Regions from separate parts of the Homo sapiens genome. Here region 1 is linked to region 2. Evidence: promoter capture Hi-C in 16 types of primary human blood cells and fetal thymus (Javierre and others, 2016). All regions are on one chromosome and are shown on one strand. The core of a region is centred on a gene start or on the middle of the fragment in contact, and the rest is flanking DNA. Distances in the headings are between cores, read along the strand shown. Region 1 overlaps LOC105373404 (a long non-coding RNA gene). Region 2 holds the start of DCDC2C (doublecortin domain containing 2C).

Evidence for each region. The method cuts DNA at HindIII sites, captures the fragments that hold promoters and counts their contacts. A CHiCAGO score of 5 or more calls a contact.
Region 1: a fragment that was not itself captured here is called in contact with the fragment with the promoter of DCDC2C in region 2 in 1 of 17 cell types (M2 macrophages); the score reaches 5.8 in M2 macrophages.

Annotation. Positions count from the first base shown.
Region 1 is chr2:6,782,973-6,786,366 of GRCh38, forward strand. The region is part of intron 3 of LOC105373404 (a long non-coding RNA gene); the gene reads right to left. Among named protein-coding and RNA genes, the nearest start is that of LINC00487, 14 kb to the left of the region's middle. The HindIII fragment of the contact is 1,919 bases long and covers 1,170-3,088 here.
Region 2 is chr2:3,701,920-3,705,408 of GRCh38, forward strand. It overlaps DCDC2C (doublecortin domain containing 2C), which reads left to right and starts at 1,656. Exons shown (of 11, transcript NM_001287444.2): 1 at 1,656-2,119. The coding sequence starts at 1,833. ALLC (allantoicase) reads left to right here. Exons shown (of 12, transcript NM_018436.4): 12 at 444-752. The coding sequence ends at 644. It overlaps LOC105373393 (a long non-coding RNA gene), which reads right to left and starts at 1,581. Exons shown (of 3, transcript XR_922732.1): 1 at 1,540-1,581; 2 at 889-1,195; 3 at 641-720. The HindIII fragment of the contact is 3,644 bases long and covers 1-2,926 here.

The sequences.
Region 1 (3,394 bases), core at 879-3,378, 3.1 Mb after region 2:
TGCCAGCGTGCACCTGAGCACCTCCCCTCCTCCTTCCCATCAGGCTCCATCTGCACTCAGGCACTGCACCTCCTGCTCAGAAACCTCCGGAAATTAGCCTAGTTGGCCTATGACCCAGCCAGGAGCTCCAGTCACTCTCCAGGGAACTCTGGACAGAGAGAAATAGTAACCTTGCTGGTCTATTGCATTTTTTAGTCAAAATGTTCACTATAAATGCATTTTCCTGTGCACTTAGTTTGGCATACCTCTTAGAACATAATTAATGTCTTCCCATTTGAAAAAGAAAACAGAACAATTTATGGTACCTTCTCCTGCATACCAGAAGGAATCCCCATGGGGTTAAACATTTTACAAATATCATTCAGGAGGTGGCAGGTTTTTAGAATGAAAATCCCACTGTAAATCATTCCAATGAAAAGAGGATTCCTTGGGAGGCACACAGGCTTTTTATAGGGCACTTAGCTTCCCCTGGTTCCCTGACCAATGTGCTCTCTGACGCTAACTGAGATTCACTAAGCCTGTAGGAGATGAAAGAGCACCGCACCAAGAGTCAGAAGAGCCGACCTCACGTCCTGCGTGACCTTGAGGCATCCCTCATCTGGGCATCCACACTTGCAAAGGGAACGTCCTCACTCTGGCACTTCAGAAGGTGTTGCCAGGTACCGTAAGGAAGCAGATGCCAGGCACAGTGCAAACATAAACCCTCTGTTGAATGAAGAGTTCAATGAATAAGCAAAGAAATGAGTGCATTTGCAAATTATAAAATATTTAACAAATGTAATAAATCAGCATATCAATATAAGGAACTGGTATATCAGTGTAAGAACAGATTTTCTGGCTTTACACTTGAGTGAAATGGTAGATTAGTGCTTTATCATTATTCCTCAGCTATACAGAAACAAACTGATAAAAACCAGAGAGAAAAAGAGAGTGAGAAAGAGGAAGCATGAGGGCACACCAGTGAAGATGCAGGAGAAGGGAAGGGACCACGGTGTGCAGTGCTGGCTCAGTGTGTGTCAACCTGCGTGCATGGTTTCCATGTAGCCTCTCACTTGCTCTGCACTGCAATGCAAGGTGGTAAAATTGCTTTTGTTTTAATTTGACATACAAGGAAAGTGAAATTAAATCACCTATGTAAAGTCACACAGGAAAAAGCAGGGAAACAGATAAGCTTGGCCACGGATCTGTGGACCACCTTTTATACCTCCTTAAAATGTTGTGCTCCACTGCCTCATGCATCTTCCCAAGGGAAGATGTTAACACACTTGAAAAATTTAGAGTGCTATAGGAAGAAGAGGTGGTTTTCTCACAGGCTAAGTTACAAATATGACCCCAGGAGAGATAAAGAGAAGGGAGGAACCTCTCCTCCCTGTAAAAGCTCACAGTATAAACTCTAAAATGTCAAGAAGAGTTAGCTAAAATGGTGGCAAACAGCAGAAAAGGGACAATACAGCATTTGAGAAGAAAATTCAGGCAGTAAGGCTAAAACTTCCCGCCAAGGATTACCTCATTTACCAACAAAGATTATGAAATCATTGCTTGAGGCAATCTGGGCAAACATGATGAAGGCAATTAAGAGGACTTAATCCATACAGCTTGAACTTTGCATGTCAGTCAGGGTTCTCCAGAGAAACAGAAGCAATAAGAAAGATAGAGGATGATATGGTTTGGCTCTGTTTCCCCGCTCAAATCTCACCTTGAATTGTAATATTTCTCATGGGTTGTGGGAGAGACCCAGTGGAAGGTAACTGAATCATGGGGGTGGGTTTTTCCCAGGCTGTTCTCATGATAGTGAATAAGTCCCACGAGATCTGATGGTTTTATAAAAGGGAGCTCCCCTGCACATGCCCTCTTTCCTGCCACCACGTAAGATGAGATTTTTCTCCTCTTTGCCTTCCACCATGATTGTGAGACCTCCCCAGCTAATTAAAGTGTGAGTCAATTAAGCCTCTTTCCTTTATAAATTACCCAGTCTCAGGTATGTCTTTATAAGCAGCATGAGAACAGACTAATACAGATGATAGCTATATAGAGATAGATAGATAGATAGATAGATAGATAGATAGATAGATAGATAGATATAGATGGATGGATAGATAAATGTAGACAGACTGATTGATTATTAGAATGGACTCATGAGATCATGAGGTAATTCAGTCTGAGTTCAAAGGCCTGAGTACTGATAAATGGGTAGATGGTTGGGGGATGGGGCAATGGTGTAACTCTCAGTCGAGTCTGAAGGCCTGAGAATTGGGGGGACACTGGTGTAAGACTCTGAGTTCGAAGGCCCATGAACCAGGAGCTCCAATGCATAAGGACGACAGAGGATGGATGACTCAACTTAAGCAGAGAGAGGGAACTCACCCTACCTCTTCCTTTTTGCTCTAGCCAGGCCCTCAATGGATTGCCTGATGCCCATCCGCTTTGGTGAGGCTGGGTCTTCTTTACACAGTTCACCAATCTGAAGGTGAATCTCTTCTGGAAACACCCTCACAGACACACCCAGAAATACAGTTTTACCAGCTCTCTGGGCATCTCTTAGCCCCGTCAAGTTGATACACAAACTTAGCCATTATACTTGGCCAATACCCAGATAGACAGCATCTGTTCATGACTGTTCCTAGGGTTCTGTTTGGGATGAACATCTGCAGTGTATACGCAGCCCTGACGCATAGCCCTCCCCACAGTCCTGTGTGAAAGCACAGTGAGGAGGAAGCAGGGAGGCAGGATATGGGCCAAGTGGGAAGGGAAGGCCCAAGGAAAGGGCCAGGGACAGGGAGTTTGCATCTGCTGCAGCTGGCTCCACACAGGGGCCTTCTGAGCTCACATGGTGATATAGTTTGAATACATGTTCCCGCCAAATCTCATGTTGAATTTTAATCCCCAGTATTGGAGGTGGGGCCTGGTGGGAGGTGATTGGACCATGGAGATAGATTTATTGTAAATAGTTTAGCAGTATCCCCTTGGTCCTGTCCTCACAATAAGTCAGTGAGTTCTTGCGAGTGTGTGGCACCTCCCCCGTGCTCTCTTGCTCCTGCTATCGCCCTGTGATGCACCTGCTCCCCATTCAACTCCCTTCATGATTTTAAGCTTCTTGAGGCCTCCCCAGAAGCAATGCCAGTGCTATGTTTTCTATATACAGCCTATAGAATCATGAGCCAATTAAATCTCTTTTCTTTATAAATTACCCAGCCTCAGGTATTTCTATATAGCAGTGCAAAAGTGACCTAATACACACCGGCTGAGGACTAGACCTCCAAAGCCCATGTGTGAACATGACTGGTCCAGATGGCAGCAGCCCAGCCAGGGGAGGGCCAGCCCCTCCCTAGGAGCACAAGGCCACATGTTGAGGGGCCCTGACACCCTGACCATGCCAAGACTTATTTTTCGGAAA
Region 2 (3,489 bases), core at 406-2,905:
TTAAAGCTCTAATGGCGTGTCCACCTGCAGGATGGATGCTCTGAGATATTCCACAAGTGTCTTCTTTGATTTAGAAAGAGGGTCAGGCTAGAGGTGAGAGCTGCTCCCATGTAAAGATAGGAAATAATCTCCGGGAGAGACCAAGATGGTCTCTTCCTTCATTTTCTTATCAATTTGCTTATGTATAATCAACTATTAGAAACAACTGATGGGCATTTAGGTTGCCCATCAATTGTTTATTGGGGCCTGCTTATTCATGTATTATTTGGGCATCCTATCCCTACTAGCAGATTTTCATGGAAAGCCCAATTATCATCAATTAATAACTTATTTTAAAGCCCCTTCGGTTAAGTCTAAGCCAAAGGTTTGCCCGGGCCGTGGGCTCATTCGGCCACACATGTCCTGTTAACAGACTAGGACCTCTGCATCTGCTTGCTTTTCAGTTGTCTCCCAACCAAAGTCATCTGTTCGATAGCCTGACCCTAGAGCTCCAAGATGTCATCACTCACGCCAGGCTCACCATCGTCCCCGACGGGGGAGTGAGCCGCCTTCGGCTCCGGGGCTTCCCCAGCTCCATCTGCCTCCTGAGGCCCCGGGAGAAGCCCATGTTGAAGTTCTCGGTGAGCTTCAAAGCAAACCCTTAACACACACAAAGCCCCGGTGTCGGACACACAGCAGTAATTTCCCAGTCATAGTCTTCTTTTCAAATGTTTTGAACACCTGGTGATTTAATAAAGTGGTCGTCTCACAAATTGATCTCTGTATTTAATGTTGCTATGAGGCATTTAGTAGCTTACATACTGGCTATGGCTGTGACTGGTGGTCTCTACGGAACTACTTTTTTTGAACATTATAAGATATTAATACTCATAATATCAATATCTGTACCTTCGGTGTGGACTTCCAGCCGTAACATGTAGCCTACTGACTGTCTAGAATCACTCAAGGGGACTGGCCTATCTTTACCCAGAGTAGGAACGATTCTTCCAAAGACCCCCTCTCCCTTTGAATCATTCCCCAATGAGGATGCGTTCTGAATGGCACGCGCCTGACACCGCACACCAGCGGCTATAGCGCGGTTCCTCACGGCCTCCCAGTGGCTCTGCACACCTCCTCCTCTGGTGGAAAAGCTCAAATTCCCCACTCTGGGCCAGGAGTCCTGGAAGACACTGGGGCTGAACCGGTCAAATTCAACCTAAGATCAAAGAAACAGAGGCTCAAAAAATGTGAAGCAGATCCCAGCACCCATCCAATGTTGATTGTCAAGATGGTCCTGGTCCCTCCCTAACCCTCCTCTCTACCGCTTCTACAGAGGAAGGCGGCGAGTGTAGGGGGAGGAGGCACGGTGGGCGTCCCGGGGCGCTCAGCACAATCATGCTAGCCGCCTCCTCCTCCTCTTTTCCTGAGCTCTGCCGCCACGCCCCTCACCTGCCCGGGCTCCCCGTTGCCCCCTCACCTGTCTCCGCCCTGTGCCGCGCCTCACCTGCTTGGGCTCCCCATTACCCAATCACCTGTCCCTGCCCCGTGCCGCCTGCTCACCTGCCCGGGTTCCCCGTCGCCCCGTCTCCTGCCCCGGCCCCGAGCCCCTCGCCCTGGCGGCCAGGCGGTCACAATCGCCCAGGGTCGCGTCAACACGCAGCCTCCGCCCGCCTGGCAGCCCCGTCCCGTCCCCGTCCAGCCCCCGTCCCGTCCCCGTCCCGTCCCCGTCCTGCGCCAGCGGCTGGAGCGGACCTCCCGTCGGCGGTGCCCGGGCCTGGGCGCGGCTCTGCAGGCGTCGCTGCCCGCGCTGCCGCAGCCTCTCGGCCCCGGCGAGCGAGGAGCGGGGCGCGGCTATGGGAACCCGCGGGCCCTCCGCGCCGGTGGACACCACGCCCGCCAAGACCATCGTGGTGTACCGCAACGGGGACCCGTTCTACGTGGGCAAGAAGTTCGTGCTGTCGCGGCGCCGCGCGGCCACCTTCGAGGCGCTGCTGGAGCAGCTCACGGAGCAGGTGGACGTCCCGTTCGGCGTGCGCCGCCTCTTCACGCCCACGCGTGGGCACCGGGTGCTGGGGCTGGACGCGCTGCAGGCGGGCGGCAAGTACGTGGCGGCGGGCCGCGAGCGCTTCAAGGAGCTCGAGTAAGTGCGCCCGCGCCCCCCACGCGCCCTGCGCCCCTCCCCGCCCTCTTGGGTCTGAGCGTGGTCAGGGCCGTGCCCCCCAGGTGTCCTCCCCAGGCTTCCCTCCCGGCTCGGGCGCCCATCTTTCGGCGTGGATCCAGCGCAGCCGGCGTCGGGCCGCCCCAGGCCACGTGGTTTCCTGGGGGCGAAGCCGAGGCAGCCCCGCCCCCAGGGTCCCTTCCTATGGGGCAGGGCGGGCCCTGGCCGGCAGCGATTCAGGACCGCCCCAGAGACGGCCAGGAGGGCGTGGGGGAGGGGCGTGGGGCAGAAACAGGGGTGTGGAGGAGGGCGTGGGGGAGGGGTGTGGAGAGGGGCGTGGGGGGCGTGGGGGAGGGGTGTGGAGAGGGGCGTGGGGGAGGGGTGTGGAGAGGGGCATGGGGGAGGGGTGTGGAGAGGGGCGTGGGGGGCGTGGGGAGGAGTGTAGGGGAGGGGGAGGGGGGAGGGGCGTGGGGGAGGGGCATGGGGCAGAAACGGGTGTGGAGGAGGGCATGGGGGAGGGGTGTGGAGAGGGGCGTGGGGGGCGTGGGGGAGGGGTGTGGAGAGGGGCGTGGGGGAGGGGTGTGGAGAGGGGCATGGGGGAGGGGTGTGGAGAGGGGCGTGGGGGGCGTGGGGAGGAGTGTAGGGGAGGGGGAGGGGGGAGGGGCGTGGGGGGGAGGGGCGTGGGGGGCAGGGCCTGGGAATGGGGCGGGTTGGGCAGTTCCCATTTGAAATCGCTCAGGGTGACCCCTCTCACTCTGTGTCCATCACTTGGTCCTGCGTGCATTTTCAAGCTTGCCTTTAATTAAACTATTGCCCTCCCACGGTTTGTGTCTGTAATCCCATTATTGCAGCCTGTGTCTGCTTTCTGTGATCTCAGCTGCTTTTCTCTCCTGATTCTCTGTTTCCTTGTAGGTTTACTTATTTTTTGACTGTGAACTACTCCTTTTGTATAGCTTTGTGTGGGGACATTCTTCAGGGCTGAGATAAAAGTGAGATTCCCCAGAGAGAATTTCCATTTTCTTCTTTCAAATGCTCTCCGTTCAAAAATGCTCTGAATTAAATCAGCAGCTTGAGTTTTGTTTGTTGTTTTTTGAAAAAGTAGTAGGATTTAGTATGAGGGCTGGTGTATGGTTCCAAATTCTTAGTGGCATTTGCAAAGATGTGAATTTACCATTCAGTTGTTTCTGAAGAAAAGTCGTAAGTCACAGGCATCACAGTTGCTAAGAGGTAGAATCTGGATTAGCATATTTCAGATTGAAATTTATTACTATGATAATCCTGTTATGTATTAGAATTCATGGACAAAATTATATTCCTTTATAGCCATGTGATTTGTGATTATTTTTTCCAAG